5 separate regions of the Homo sapiens genome follow, and regions 1, 2, 4 and 5 are each linked to region 3. Evidence: promoter capture Hi-C in 16 types of primary human blood cells and fetal thymus (Javierre and others, 2016). All regions are on one chromosome and are shown on one strand. The core of a region is centred on a gene start or on the middle of the fragment in contact, and the rest is flanking DNA. Distances in the headings are between cores, read along the strand shown. Region 1 has its middle 25 kb from the start of GPCPD1. Region 2 overlaps GPCPD1 (glycerophosphocholine phosphodiesterase 1). Region 3 holds the start of TRMT6 (tRNA methyltransferase 6 non-catalytic subunit). Region 4 has its middle 58 kb from the start of GPCPD1. Region 5 has its middle 63 kb from the start of SHLD1.

Evidence for each region. The method cuts DNA at HindIII sites, captures the fragments that hold promoters and counts their contacts. A CHiCAGO score of 5 or more calls a contact.
Region 1: a contact is called between a fragment that was not itself captured here and the fragment with the promoter of TRMT6 in region 3, in 1 of 17 cell types (naive CD4 T cells). The highest score is 5.6, in naive CD4 T cells.
Region 2: a contact is called between a fragment that was not itself captured here and the fragment with the promoter of TRMT6 in region 3, in 16 of 17 cell types (naive B cells, naive CD4 T cells, naive CD8 T cells and 13 more). The highest score is 20.1, in naive B cells.
Region 4: a fragment that was not itself captured here is called in contact with the fragment with the promoter of TRMT6 in region 3 in 5 of 17 cell types (naive B cells, total B cells, fetal thymus and 2 more); the score reaches 7.3 in naive B cells.
Region 5: a fragment that was not itself captured here is called in contact with the fragment with the promoter of TRMT6 in region 3 in 3 of 17 cell types (naive CD4 T cells, monocytes and fetal thymus); the score reaches 5.4 in naive CD4 T cells.

What each region holds. Positions count from the first base shown.
Region 1 is chr20:5,634,234-5,636,933 of GRCh38, reverse strand. No RefSeq gene overlaps it. Among named protein-coding and RNA genes, the nearest start is that of GPCPD1, 25 kb to the right of the region's middle. The HindIII fragment of the contact is 1,174 bases long and covers 703-1,876 here.
Region 2 is chr20:5,576,648-5,579,347 of GRCh38, reverse strand. GPCPD1 (glycerophosphocholine phosphodiesterase 1) reads left to right here. Exons shown (of 20, transcript NM_019593.5): 8 at 737-968. Among named protein-coding and RNA genes, the nearest start is that of GPCPD1, 33 kb to the left of the region's middle. The HindIII fragment of the contact is 328 bases long and covers 1,106-1,433 here.
Region 3 is chr20:5,949,265-5,951,964 of GRCh38, reverse strand. TRMT6 (tRNA methyltransferase 6 non-catalytic subunit) reads left to right here and starts at 1,432. Exons shown (of 11, transcript NM_015939.5): 1 at 1,432-1,687. The coding sequence starts at 1,560. It overlaps MCM8 (minichromosome maintenance 8 homologous recombination repair factor), which reads right to left and starts at 1,313. Exons shown (of 19, transcript NM_032485.6): 1 at 942-1,313. RefSeq lists an enhancer at 1,297-1,436. The HindIII fragment of the contact is 3,685 bases long and covers 1-2,700 here.
Region 4 is chr20:5,667,512-5,670,211 of GRCh38, reverse strand. No RefSeq gene overlaps it. Among named protein-coding and RNA genes, the nearest start is that of GPCPD1, 58 kb to the right of the region's middle. The HindIII fragment of the contact is 1,203 bases long and covers 749-1,951 here.
Region 5 is chr20:5,686,070-5,688,769 of GRCh38, reverse strand. No RefSeq gene overlaps it. Among named protein-coding and RNA genes, the nearest start is that of SHLD1, 63 kb to the left of the region's middle. RefSeq lists an enhancer at 166-666. The HindIII fragment of the contact is 3,496 bases long and covers 1-2,700 here.

The sequences.
Region 1 (2,700 bases), core at 40-2,539, 310 kb after region 3:
TTTGTTGAACCCAAGCATAAAAATCGACATTTTTTCCTGTATCTTTGAGTTTTCATTCTGAAGGCTCCCGTGTATACATGTCAAATAAATTTGTATGCCTTTCTCCAATTAATCTGCCTGTCAGTGGTTTTCAAATCTCCAGGGGGCCGAGGGCCTTGGCCCCTGCAGGAACATCCACATCTTCTTCATTTGTTTGTTTAAGACAGAGTCTTGCTCTGTCACCCAGGCTGGAGCACAGTGGCACTATCACGGCTCAGTGCAGTCTCGATCTCCCAGGCTCCAGCAATTCTCCTGCCTCAACCTCCCATGTAGCTGGGACCACAGGCATGTGCCATCAGGCCTGGCTAATTTTTTGATTTTTGATTGTTGTTGTTGACATGGGGTTTCATTTTGTTGCCCAGCTGGTCTTGAATTCCTGATTTCAAGTAATCCTCTCAACTCAGCCTCCCAAAGTAAAGCCCCACATTATCTTTATTGTTAACATTTTTCTTAGAATGCTGGAGGGTTTTTTTTTGTTTTTTTTTTTGTTTGTTTTTTTCTTGAGATGAGTCTTGCTATGTGGCCCAGGCTGGAATGTAGTGCTGCTATCTCGACTCACTGCAACCTCCGCCTCCTGGGTTCAGCCATTCTTGTGCCTCCGCCTCCGGAATAGCTGAGACTACAGGTGCTCGCCACTGTGCCCAGCCTAGAGTGCTGGAAGCTTTTAAAACCCATGGAGGCCGGGTGCAGTGGGCCTTAGGACCCTCCCCAGGGTCAGTCCTGCCCTATACACTCGAGTGTTACTGGTAAAGGGTCCGGATCCAGACCCCAAGAGGGGGTTGATCTCGGGCAAGAAAGAATTTGAAGCAAGTCCACAGAATAAAGTGAAAGCAGGAACGAAAGAATGGCTACTCCATAGGCAGAGCAGCCCCAAGGTCTGCTGGTCTGCTGGTTGCCTTTTCTGAGGTGGAGTTTTGCTCTTGTTGCCCAGGCTAGAGTGCAATGGCGTGATCTCGGCTTACCGCAACCTCCGCCTCGCGGTTTCAAGCAATTCTCCTGCCTCAGCCTCCCGAGTAGCTGGGATTACAGGCATGTGCCACCACACCCAGCTAATTCTGTATTTTTAGTAGAGACGGGTTTCTCCATATTGATCAGGCTGGTCTCGAACTCCTGACCTCAGGTGATCCACTTGCCTTGGCCTCCCAAAGTGCTGGAATTACAGGCATGAGCCACCACGCCTGGCTAGTTGCCCTTTTTTTTTTTTTTTTTTTTTTTTTTTTTTTTTTTTTAGAGACAGAGTCTGGCTCTGTTGCCCAGGCTGGAGTGCAGTGCTGCAATCTTGGCTCACTGCAAGCTCCACCTCTGCTGACCTCGTGATCCACCCGCCTCGGCCTCCCAAAGTGCTGGGATCACAGGCACGATCCACCGCGCCCAGCCCTGGTTGCCCATTTTTATGGTTATTTCTTGAATATATGCTAAACAAAAGCATATATGCTAAACATGTATATGAATATATGCTAAACAAAAGCATGAATGTGGTTCTTCATTCCTCCCCTTCTTAGGCCATATAGGGTTACTTCCTGATGTTGCCATGGCATTTGTAAACTGTCGTGGCACTGATGGGAGTGTAGCAGTGAGGATGACCAGAGGTCACTCTCATTGCCATCTTGGTTTTGGTGAGTTTAAGCTGGCTTCTTTACGACAAACTGTTTTATCAGAAAGGTCTTTATGACCTGTATCTTGTGCTGATCTCCCATCTCATCCCGTGACTTAGAATGCCTAACCATCTGGGAATGCAGCCCAGTAGGTGTCAGCCTTTTTTACCCAGCTCATATTCAAGATGGAGTTGCTCTGGTTCAAATGCCTCTGACAGAAGGAATGCTGAGGCCATGAAGCTTTCATAGAAACACAGAGGATTGGTTTGGAGAGCTTCGGGATGGCTGAACGTGTGGAGATTTCTAGAGGGTGGTGCACCCAGGGAGGGCATGGAAGCTCCGCACCCCTTTCTTCATATCTGTGCATCCCTTCATCTGTATCCTTTATAATAATAAACTGGTAAACATCGCTGTTTCCCTGGGTCCTGTGAGCCTCTCTAGCAAATTAAAGGAACCCAAATTGGGGGTCGTGGAGACTTCAACTTGTTGTTGGTAGGTCCGAAATTCCAGTGGCAGAGACTTGCAACTGATGTCTTCTGCAAGGGAGGCAGTGTTGGGGACTGAGACCTCAACCCATGGGATCTGATGCTATCTCCAAGTAGATAATGTCAGAATGAAATTGTAGGGCCCCCACCTGGTGTCGGCTGCTTGGTGTATGGGGAAAAACTCCCACATATTTGGCCACAGAAGTGTTCTTCTGTGTTGACGATCGTTGTGGTGGTGTGAGCACAGTGGAAAAGCACAGTTTGGGAGAGTTTTTCCTGAAACACACCCTTACAGAGGAGTAGCCATTTCCAAGCAACAAAAAAATTGCTGTGAGCTCCATAGTCAATGCAAGGGAAGCCTTTAGGAACACTCAGCCTGGTAAAAAACAAATATGACAGGAGATATCTGGGGGAAAAGAAGCAGAGGTGGGATCCAGGAGAGATCTCCTACTCAGCAAAGTTTGCAGGTGTTCTGCAGGCAGAACACTGGTTTCAGCCTGCTTTAGATCATTTTCGATCCAAGAAAGTAAATTTTTAAAAATTCTAGGTCTAGACATAGGATTGCCAGTTTTAATTTTGCC
Region 2 (2,700 bases), core at 20-2,519, 370 kb after region 3:
AAATGATTGTCTGCTACATAAGAATGCCATAAAGAGAAAATATTTTTTGGAAGTATTCTTCAGTGTTCTAAATTTTATTGTGTCTTGAAAATGAAAAATTTTCCACACAGGAAAAAATTTTTGAATATTATATGTGTTTAATAATATATATATTTTTTCTTTTGAGAGAGGGTCTGGCCGTGTCACCCAGGTTGGAGTACAGTGGTGCAATCTCGGCTCACTGCAACCTCCACCTCTCACGCTCAAGTGATCCTCCCACCTCAGCCTCCCGAGTAGCTGGGACTACAGGCATGTGACACATGCCTGAATAATTTTTATATTTTTTGCAGATGGGGTTTCACCATGTTGCCTAGGCTGGTCTCAGACTTCTGAGCTCAAGCAATCCTCCCGCGTCAGCTTCCCAAAGTTCTGGGATTACAGGCGTGAGCCACTGGCCCAGCCCTAGATTTATTTATTTTTTTTTAATGAAAGAATCAACAACCTTAGTAGGCATAATGGTCATTTATCCCATTTTAATACTTTGCAAAAATATGTGTAGATAATAACATCAGTATTTTATAAAACACACCTAATTCCTTAACCTGTAGTATGTGTAATCTTTGCATAATACATTATTTTTGTTATTCGAAGATTTAGCATATTTGGGGGCACTTTAAAATGTAGAATTTAGGCAACATTTGTATGAGTTTTTCTTTTCTGCCACTTCTTGCATCTCATTATTTTGTTTATTACGTAGGGTGAAGCTGACACTAGAAGGCCTGGAGGAAGATGACGATGATAGGGTATCTCCCACTGTACTCCACAAAATGTCCAATAGCTTGGAGATATCCTTAATAAGCGACAATGAGTTCAAGTGCAGGCATTCACAGCCGGAGTGTGGTTATGGCTTGCAGCCTGATCGTTGGACAGAGTACAGCATACAGACGATGGAACCAGATAACCTGGAACTAATCTTTGATTTTTTCGAAGTGAGTAGTTACTGCAGTGAGGGGATTGAGAAAGAATGCAGGGACAAGCTTATTTTAACGTTGGTTTTGATTTTCATTTTAATCTAATTTGTGTAAAGCTAACTTTTTAGAGGTATGCTCTTCTGTACAGTTAAGCTTAAAAAACTTAGAGTTGTCATCTTCAAGTACTATTAAGAATATAATTAAGAGAACAGCAGTATTGATGTTTCCAATCAAGACCAGATGTCTTTGATGCCTGTATGCTAAATAATCTAAATGTAAATGAATTGTATCCAAAGGAAACATCAGTGGTAAATAGAGACCAGGGCAGGCTTTGTACCTCTTGGCGGGCATCCCGATGTAACAAGCGTGATTGAGTTCTCACTATGATGGAAGCCTGTCATTTATTGAGGTACTTTATTAGGATTTGTTGATGGGACTGACTTGCAACTTGATATTGTAAATATGTAATGAAATTATAAAGCTTGTGCCAGGTTATTGACAATCTGTGCTGCTAACTTTCTGGAGCTACATGTGATACTTACACTAGTGCTTGTAGACCACTGGCTGTTCATATTTCCCCAACACATAATACTTGGTACATCCCCTAAGGTCCTTACTGCTGTGGGCCTGGCTCGGTAGTGGTATGTAGTGGTTTCCTTACCCTCTAGCTCCACCTCCACACCCATTTATACTAGATTAGAGTTTAAATCTTGGAGGGTAGGGAATATGTCTTGACCACCAGTAGCCCCCAGCCAGTTTCTTGAGAACAACAGAATTCAGAATGGATTTAAAAAAATCTAATCCAGTAAGCAGTAAGATCTGTGGGACTCTATTATAAAAGTATGAAATTTTGATGACTTCTTTCTTTCTTTTTCTTTCCTTTCTTCTTTTCCTTTTTTTTTTTTTTCTGGAGAGAGGGTCTTGCTCTGTTGCGCAGTCTGGAGTATAGTGACATGATCAGGGCTCACTGCAGCCTCAATCTCCTGGGTGCAAGTGATCCTCATGCCTCAGCCTCTCAAGTAGCTGGGACTACAGGTGTGTACCACCACACCCAGCTAATTTAAAAAAAACGTTTTTGGCCGGGCGCGGTGGCTCATGCTTGTAATCCCAGCACTTTGGGAGGCCAAAGCAGGCGGATCACGAGGTCAAGAGTAAGAATACAAAAATTAGCCAGGCGTGTTGGCGCGTGACTGTAATCCCAGCTACTCGAGAGGCTGAGGCAGGAGAATTGCTTGAACCTGGGAGGCGGAGGTTGCAGTGAGCCAAGATCACACCACTGCACTCCAGCCTGAGTGACAGAGCAAGACTCCATCTCAGAAAAAAAAAAAAAAACAAAAAAAAAAACAACTTTTTTTTTGTTGTTGAGATGGGGTCTTTGTTGCCCAGGCTGGTCTTGAACTCCTGGGCTCAAGCGATCCTCCTGCCTCGGCCCCTCAAAGTGCTGAGATTGCAGGTGTGAGCCTCTGCTCCTGGCCTGAACATTTTCTTGTTGCTTCCTTTTAATAAACCTACCTTTTAATAAATTATATCTTGAATGTCCTACCTTCCCTTTACTTTGTTTAACATTTTTTGTAATAGTGTTTTGTTCATAGACTAGGCTGATAAAATATCCAGTGTAATCTCAAAGTGAGTATAGTATTTGGTTTCCTAGAGAGTTCCTATCCCATGTGACACTTGTGTAGAAACATTTTTAGAGAATATGTTAAAAATTCACTACAAATATATCTTAGTCTTACAACAACATAAAAGT
Region 3 (2,700 bases), core at 183-2,682:
ATAGTGCTCTTAAAAATGTATTAATAAAAAGGGAAAAATTAATGTATTCTAGGTTCAAGAGTAGCAAACAGGCTTGCAAAGTTGTACAGCTATGATACAAGACCCAAATATTCTGCAGTTAAGTTTCTAATCTCTATCGCTTTTTAAGGTATACCATAATAGTTTAATAACTATTAAATATGGTTTACGTATACTAGACGCTCACAGGTTAAAAATAAGGACAGGTACTGTACCTGTTTACAAGTCCCCATTACAGAAATGAAAATAGGACAGGTAATTAACTCTATGAAAACTTATTTGCAGTATTTGAGACTTCTTATTATAGGGCAGGACAGGATGAACATAATTCTGGCCTGTGAGACACTAGGGATACATCATCATAGCTTCTTACATACAGTCAATCCTGCAGTGTCACATCCATTTTTTGTGCAGTTTTTCTGTAAATCCAAAACTGTTCTTATAAAATACACGTCTACTTAAAAATGATTCATATCCTAAGTATACAAGTAAATAAAGATATACCTGTACGCTGCAGTGCAATTCATTATCAAATACTCTACCCAAATCCTTACTTAAAAGGGGTTTAGTTAATAAAACAAGATAGTAACTAGAAAGTTCACGATTTAACGGCATGACAGGGCTCCAATAATTAGGCATTACACATTATGAAACTGATGCTCAAAGAAATTAAGCAAACCGATCAAGATCAAAGTTGTTTGTCGACAGTACAGAGATAAAACTTTCAGCCTCCCAAGCTGAGGCGCTCCTTCAACAACGCTGCGTGCCATACCCTTCTCAAACGAGACAATATGCTGAGAACAGTAACAAATTCAAAAAAACGTTAAGAAGTAGGACTGGAGAAAGAGTAAAAAGAAACAGTTGGGTACCTGTGCTTCTTCAAATACTACTTTATTTACATCTCCTAAGGCTAAAGTTCTTACTTGCTTGGGACAGAGGTCCCAAAGCTCTCCTAGTTCACAACTGGGCCGGCTCCAGGATACGCGCAGATCTGTCCGGCCGGATTCTCCCTCCCTCCCTCCCGTAGAGAAGCACCACGGGGCTAAGAGTCTCCGGGATCTTAGCTCCTCAGGCGACTCCTGCCAAGTCCGCAGTTCTCTTCAGCCGCAGCTTTCCTGTCGTCCCCGCGCGGTGCTGAACCCCATCTGTCTCAACGGCTCGGGAAACTCAGTTTCCCCACCGCAGCTTCCAGAAGGTGTCTGTAGCGCACAGCGCCGCAAAAATGCCTCAAGCGAAAATCAGGTCTTCCCCTAAATTCTTTTTTGGCGCTTCAGTGATCCAACTTCCGCTCAAAGAAGCGGCAAGACGAGAGGGGCGGGGCGGAGTGCAGCCAATCAAGGAGTTTGGCCAGACGGAAGCCGAGAGGCTTCCGGAAGCGGTCTTGAGGTCTGGGCCGGAAAGCGGAAGCGGCGTGCAACACGTGGGGGCGGTGCCGGTCGGAGGGCTCCTAGTGCGCCAGGTTGTGGGAAGTGAGGCTGGCGGTGGCGACAACCGAGGAGGAGGGGCGGGACGCCGTGGAGCACGGCGACCGGCTGAGCGTCATGGAGGGCTCAGGGGAGCAGCCGGGCCCACAACCACAGCATCCCGGAGACCACCGCATCCGCGACGGCGACTTCGTGGTGCTGAAACGTGAAGATGTGTTTAAAGCAGTACAAGTCCAGCGGAGAAAGTAAGTCAGATCGCTGATTTTAGGGGTCTCCCGCCCCCACCTTGTAGATACCCCCTCCCTCCAGGTTTCTCCACAGAATTCTTCCGCCAGGGTGCCATTCTTGGCTCTCTCGGTCCCCATTCCCCGCCCTCGTTGTCTCCTCGGGTCTTTCTGTCACAGAAGGCTTTTCCACCAGGATCCCGTCTTCGAACCTCATAATCTCCCTTAACCCTCCTGTTTTTCCCGGAGCCCCCTCCATGATTTCATATCTGGCCGTCCACCTTCAGCATCCTTTTCAGTCTTTCCACAGAGTTCCTTCCCCAGAATTCCATTCTTGGCCCTAGGGTGCCAATGCCTCCCTCTCCACACCCTAATCACCTGTCCTGAAGTTCTTTCCCTAGGACCTTGGGATCTTCACTGTCTTTCCAGAGACACCCCCTCCTTTCTTCACTTTAGGATCTCATCCTTGTCTCCAGAGTCTCCTTCAGGTTCCCCCTTTTTTTCCACCATAGATCCTCCTTCTTCCCTAATCCCCCAGTCAGGATCTATCCCACAAAAAATGAAACGTCTCCTACCTAGTCTGGCTTTCTATCCTCTTCTCTACCCAAGCAGGATACACAGAATAGATGAAGGAGACAATTCACCACAGAGTGTGGAATCACTTTGAGTTTCCCTCGTTTTACTCACCAAAGGATTCAACGCTGGGAAAATTGCTAAAAAGCAATTTGCTCAAGGCCTCAGAACTCCAAATTAGGTTTGGTTTGTGCACCTGCTGGCTAGTATCGCTCTGTTTTATAGAAGTAAAGAAGTGGGATTTTGATAACTTTCTGGAAGGGCTGGTGAGGTTGTTAAGTCCTAAGAGCTTATTAATGGTGAAAATTTATTGGGATATTTGGATTAATTTATCTGAGAAATACAACCACAGTGTTTTTGTTTTTGAGACGGAGTCTTGCTTTGTCACCCAGGCTTTAGGGCAGTAGTGCAATCTCGGCTCATTGCAGCCTCTGCCTCCGAGGTTCAAGCGATTCTCCTGC
Region 4 (2,700 bases), core at 101-2,600, 280 kb after region 3:
GTGGCCTCTCTCCAGCTATTAAGCCACCCACAGTTTAATTCATGTGTATCATCCGTTCATTAGGGAGTGCAAGGCAGAGGGGTTTTGAAAACTATTTTCATTCAATCTAGTGCGTGTGGAAAAAAAGAAAATTCTATTTTCTCTAATTGCATTTTCTACCATGCTCTTTGAATCCCCCTTCCCATCCCTCAGTGATATCTACAATAGATGCTACTGGAGCCTTAACAATACAGCTCTCAAATTCACACCAACTTCTTCTTGTTTTTTTGTTTATTGAGACCGAGTCTCACTCTGTCACTCAGGCTAGAGTGCAGTGGTGTGATCTTGGCTAACTGCAACCCCTGCCCTCCAGCCTGGGTGACAGGGCGAGACTCTGTCTCAAAAAAAAAAGTTAGACTCTTCCTCTCCGAGAGCTGGAAATCTATGTTCCAGGATTCTCCCTGTTCCCCACCTCGCCCAGGTGCCCTTTCCAGCCTAGTTCTCCACCGTTGGCATTCATGAGGAGAAGAGGCTCTGACCTCCTCCTTGACTGCCCTCCTAGGAGGATTCTCTCAGGCTGGGCTCTGCAGCTGGAGGCCCCCATAGAGGCGGTGGGCTCCGCTGAGATGGTGAGTGCCATTCTTTCGGAATGCCACATGACTTCATGTGAGCCCTTTCTACTCCTGAGGTCATCCCTCAGGCAAAGGCAGTCAGGTCTCCCCTCAGCCTCTACCAGCCTCTGTACTCTAGCCTTTCTCCGGGGGAAGCTTCTCTTTGCTGGACACCACCTGGGCAGCCCTAGGTATCCACCCACCACTCCACTTTATGCTCCTTCATAAGGAGGCGTGGGACCCTTGATGCACTCTTCCTGCCCTCAGGCAAAGGGAAAGCCCTCATCCTTTCCTTGTGGGGCATGCTTATCCACAACAGGCTGCTTCATCAGGCCTCCCCTTTTCACAGTTTTTCATTCAAGAAGCACTGCCAGCCTCTGGCTTTATGAGCACTCCCAAAGTCCAGGGATATGTGTCAACTCTCCCAAAATCCCTGAATGTGTGAATATTCAAAACTGAGTCCCTGATAGCCTCCCCAAACCTGCTCCTCCTGCAGTCATCCTACCACAGCTAGTGGCAATTTCATCCTTCCAGATGCTCAAAACCCATGGAGTGATCCTCAGCTGGTCTCTCTTCCCCATACCCTATTTCCAATGTGAGAGCAAATCCATCAGCACCACCTTCAAGATACATCCAGAATCCAACCTCTTGTCATCACCTTCACAGCTATCATCTCTCACCTGAATTATTGTAATATCCTCCCAACACATCTCTCTGCTTCCAATCTGCTCGCTGTATCAGTTATCCAATGCCATATCATCCTTACTGAATATCCTTATTGGATATTATGGAGTACATTTCATAAGAAACAGCCACAAAACCTCAGTGGCCTGCAATACTAATGCCTCTGGGGTTAACTGGGGACCAGCTGATGGCTCACGCCCATGTCTGGGGATCAGCTGGTTGAGTTGACTGAGGCTATTCAGCTCTGCTCTGTGTGTTTCTCATCCTCCAGCGGGCTCGCCTGGGCAGGTTCTCGGGACGATGGCAGAAGCACAAGATAGCAAGTGGAAACCTGCAAGGCTCCTTGAAGCCTTGGCTTGGAACTGCTGTGCCATCACTTCTGTCTCATTATATGGGCCAAAGCAAGTCATATGGTCAAGCCCAGAGTCAGAGTAGAAAGTCTTTACCAAGTACATGGCTGAAATAAAGTCAAGTGGTAGGAAAGTGCATGTTGCCTCTTGTTGGGTGGAGCTGCAATGTGACAGCAAAGCATGTAGATGAGGGGAGGGATGAAGACTGGGACTTTCAACACAATCAGCTTCCCACATCCCTGCCCTGTCCAGCCTCCCATATAGCACTTCACTGCTTAAAACTCTCCCAACTATAAAACTCTTGGAAGAAAATTTAGGGAGAAAGCTTCATAACATTGGATTTCACAATAATTTCTTAGATATCATGCCAAAAGTACAGGCAACAAAAGTAAAAATAGATAAATTAGGTTACACCAAAATTTGAAATTTCTGTGCCTCAAAAGACACTATCAAAAGACTGAAGAGGTAGCCTACAGAATGGGAGAAAATATTTGAAATTATATATATAATAAAGGGTTGATATGCAAGCCATATGAAGGATTCCTACAACAAAACAAACAACCCCAGTAAACATGGGCAAATAAACATTTCTCCAAAGAAGACATACGAATGGCCAACAAGCACATGAAAAGACGCTCAACATCACTAATCACCAGGGAAATGCAAATTGAAACCACAGTGAGATACCAGCGCTCCTTTCTGGAGGCTCTATGAGGAGAAGCTGTTTCTTTACTCATTCAGGCTATTGGCAGAATTCAGTCCCTTTCGGCTGTAGAACTGAGGTCCCCTTGCTGGCTGTGAGTGAGGGCTGTTCCCTGCTTCTAGAGGCTGTCCCTTGGCTTATGGCCCCCTTCCTCTAATTCAAAGCCAACAATGGTAGGCAAGTCCCTTTCATGCTTTGAACCTCCCCTAGAGTCAGGATTTTGCCATGGTGCCCAGGCTGGTCCTGAACTCTTGGGCTCAAGCGATCTGCCCATCTCAGCCTCCCAAAGTTTCTTTTCTACTTTTAAGGGCCCATGTAACTACGTTAGACCTGTCCAGACAGTCCAGGATAATTTCCTAACCCAAAAGTCCAT
Region 5 (2,700 bases), core at 163-2,662, 260 kb after region 3:
AAAGGGAGCGGGGGCAGAGCGGTGGGGAGGGCGGAGACTGAGACAGAGAGTAGCTAATTAAGGGACTGGGGAGAAAGGGAGCTGAGCTGCATTTGTCCTCAGGGCACCTCTGGGAGCCAGTGTGGAACACACCTCTGCACGCTGCCTCTGCCGGGAAAGGCGGCTGGAGTGTTGAACATACCACCCCCCATCAGTCAGGCAGCAAGGGCTGCTTCCGGTGTGGGGCCAAGTCCTGGACACTCTGGCCTGCCACGTTGGGGGTAAAGTGGGCTCTGGCAGCAAGAGGAAGCCCTTGAGCAGCTGGCTTCCTCTTGTGAGGAAATAAGGGCCCCTACTTCCAAGGGGCCATGAGTAGGGCCCCGCCCGATGGAGAGGTCAGAGTGAGGGGACATGGTGGGCAAGAAGAGCACCTGCTACAGGTCTAACAGGGAGCAGCCTAAACTGGACCTAGGGGGCATGGAGATCCCTAACAGCCAAAGCCATAAAGTTGCACTGCTGGTCACAGTGCTCCAATCTTCATTCAAGTGAATGGATTACCTCCAGGAAATTAGTTATGAGAGGCAACACATTAATTCATGGCGCCAAGTACCATCTATGTCAGTCAGGATTCTTTGGTTGCAAGTGACGAAACCCAATTCCAATCAGACCCAATTCCAAGCAGACACAAAGGGAAAGAGGAAGGGCGCAACACTTCCTTGCATGAGCAGGAAGGGGAAGGTGCAAACTGTCTGTAATTCATCACATGGAGTGGGCACGAATTTTGCAATTTGTCTACCCAAAGGGAGTGCCTTTTTAAAATTTTTGCCCTAAACCATCTTCATGTTAGCAGCAGCTCAGTTATTCTCAGGAGAAGGATACCAGGCACACAGAATGACAAGTGTCCTCCTCAAAACTGTGACAGATAAAGTAGCTGCCACCCAGCAGAAAATAAGCCCACGACGGAATGGTAACTGTTGTGGGCTAAACTGCGTCCCTCAAGCAGATATGTTAAGGTCCCAACCCCTGGGACCTGTGAATGTGATCTTATTTGGAAATAGGGTCCCTGCAGATGCAATCAGGTTAAGATGAGGTCATACTGGATTAAATGGGCCCTAATCCAATATGACTGGTGTCTTTGTAAGAGGGGAAGAGGCCAGGTGCAGTGGCTCATGCCTGTAATTCCAGCACTTTGGGAGGCCAAGGTGGGTGGATCACTTGAGCTCAGGAGTTCAAGACCAGCCTGGGCAACATGGTGAAACCCCATCTCTACCAAGAATACAAAAATTAGCCAGGTGTGGTGGCATGCACCCGTAGTCCCAGCTACTCAGGAGGCTGAGGTGGGAGGATCGCTTGAGCCCAGGAGGCAGAGGTTGCAGTGAGCCAAGTTCACGCCACTGTACTACTCCAGCCTGGGTGACAGAGTAAGACCCTGTCTCAAAAAAAAAAAAAAAAAAAAAAGAGAGAGAGAGAGAAGTAACACAAGACACAGACACAAAAGGAAACACAGACACTCAAAGAGAGTGCCCTGTTGTGATGACAGGAATAGAGATTGGAGCAATACACGCAAGAACCCAGGAATGCCCAGAAGCTAAGAAAAAGGCATGGAATAGATTCTCCCCCTAGAACATTCAGAGCACACGGTCCTGCCTACACCTTGACTTCTGGTCTCCAGAACTGTCAGAGAAGCCACTCAGATTGTGACACTTTGTTATGGCAGCCCTGGGAAACTGATGCAGATGCTAACTTGACACTGGAGATCTAGAGGCAAGGAGGATGAAGTCCTGGACAGGACAAAGATCTGCCGTGGGCTCAGCATGAGGACACGGGGCAGCTAGGGTGTAAAGGGAGCCTGTGCTGAACTGGAAGGTGAGGTGAGTGCGCACCCATATGCCTCCCACCTGCGCTGCTGCCCATGGCCAAGTCTTTCTATGTGAGGAGTGACTTCCTACCCAAGCAAAGGTGACTAAGAGGAACAAAACATCCCCAACGTTTCCTTTAGATGGTTGCAGATCTTCTCTTCGAAGCCGTTACCTGAAGGTAAAGTGAAGGGGGGCAATGCTCTGTGGGAGGTCATTCCTTCAAATCTAGACGTTTTCTCATTTTCTTCGACTTCTGGGTTGAGTCTTCTTCTGCCACTCTGGCTGTAGCAATTTGACACTTAGCTAACCCTTGTTGAATGCTCCCTATGTGTTAAGCAATGTTTGTTTCGTTTTGTTGAGAGACAGGTTCTCATTCTGCCACCCAGGCCGGGGTGCAGTGGTGCGATCACGGCTCACTGCAGCCTTGACCTCCTGGGCTCAAGTGATCCTCTCACCTTGGCCTTCAGAGTAGCCGGGACTACAGATGTGCATCACCGTGCTCAACTAATTCAATTTCTTATGGAGACAGGATCTCACTAGGTTGCCTAGGCTGGTCTTGAACTCCCAGGCGCAAGTGATCCTCCTGTCTTTGCCTCCCGAAGTGCTGGAATTACAGGTGTGAGCCACGGTGCCAGGCCAAAGTCTTAAGTCTGCACTGTCTCATGCAATAGCTATAGCCACATGTGGCAATGTACATGTAAATTTAAATTAATTAAAATTAGATAAAATTAATCATTTAGCCTGGGCACGGTGGCTAACACCTGTAATCCCAGCACTTTGGGAGGCCGAGGTGGGCGGATCACCTGTGGTCAGGAATTTCGAGACCAGCCTGGACAACATGGTGAAAACCCTGTCTCTACTA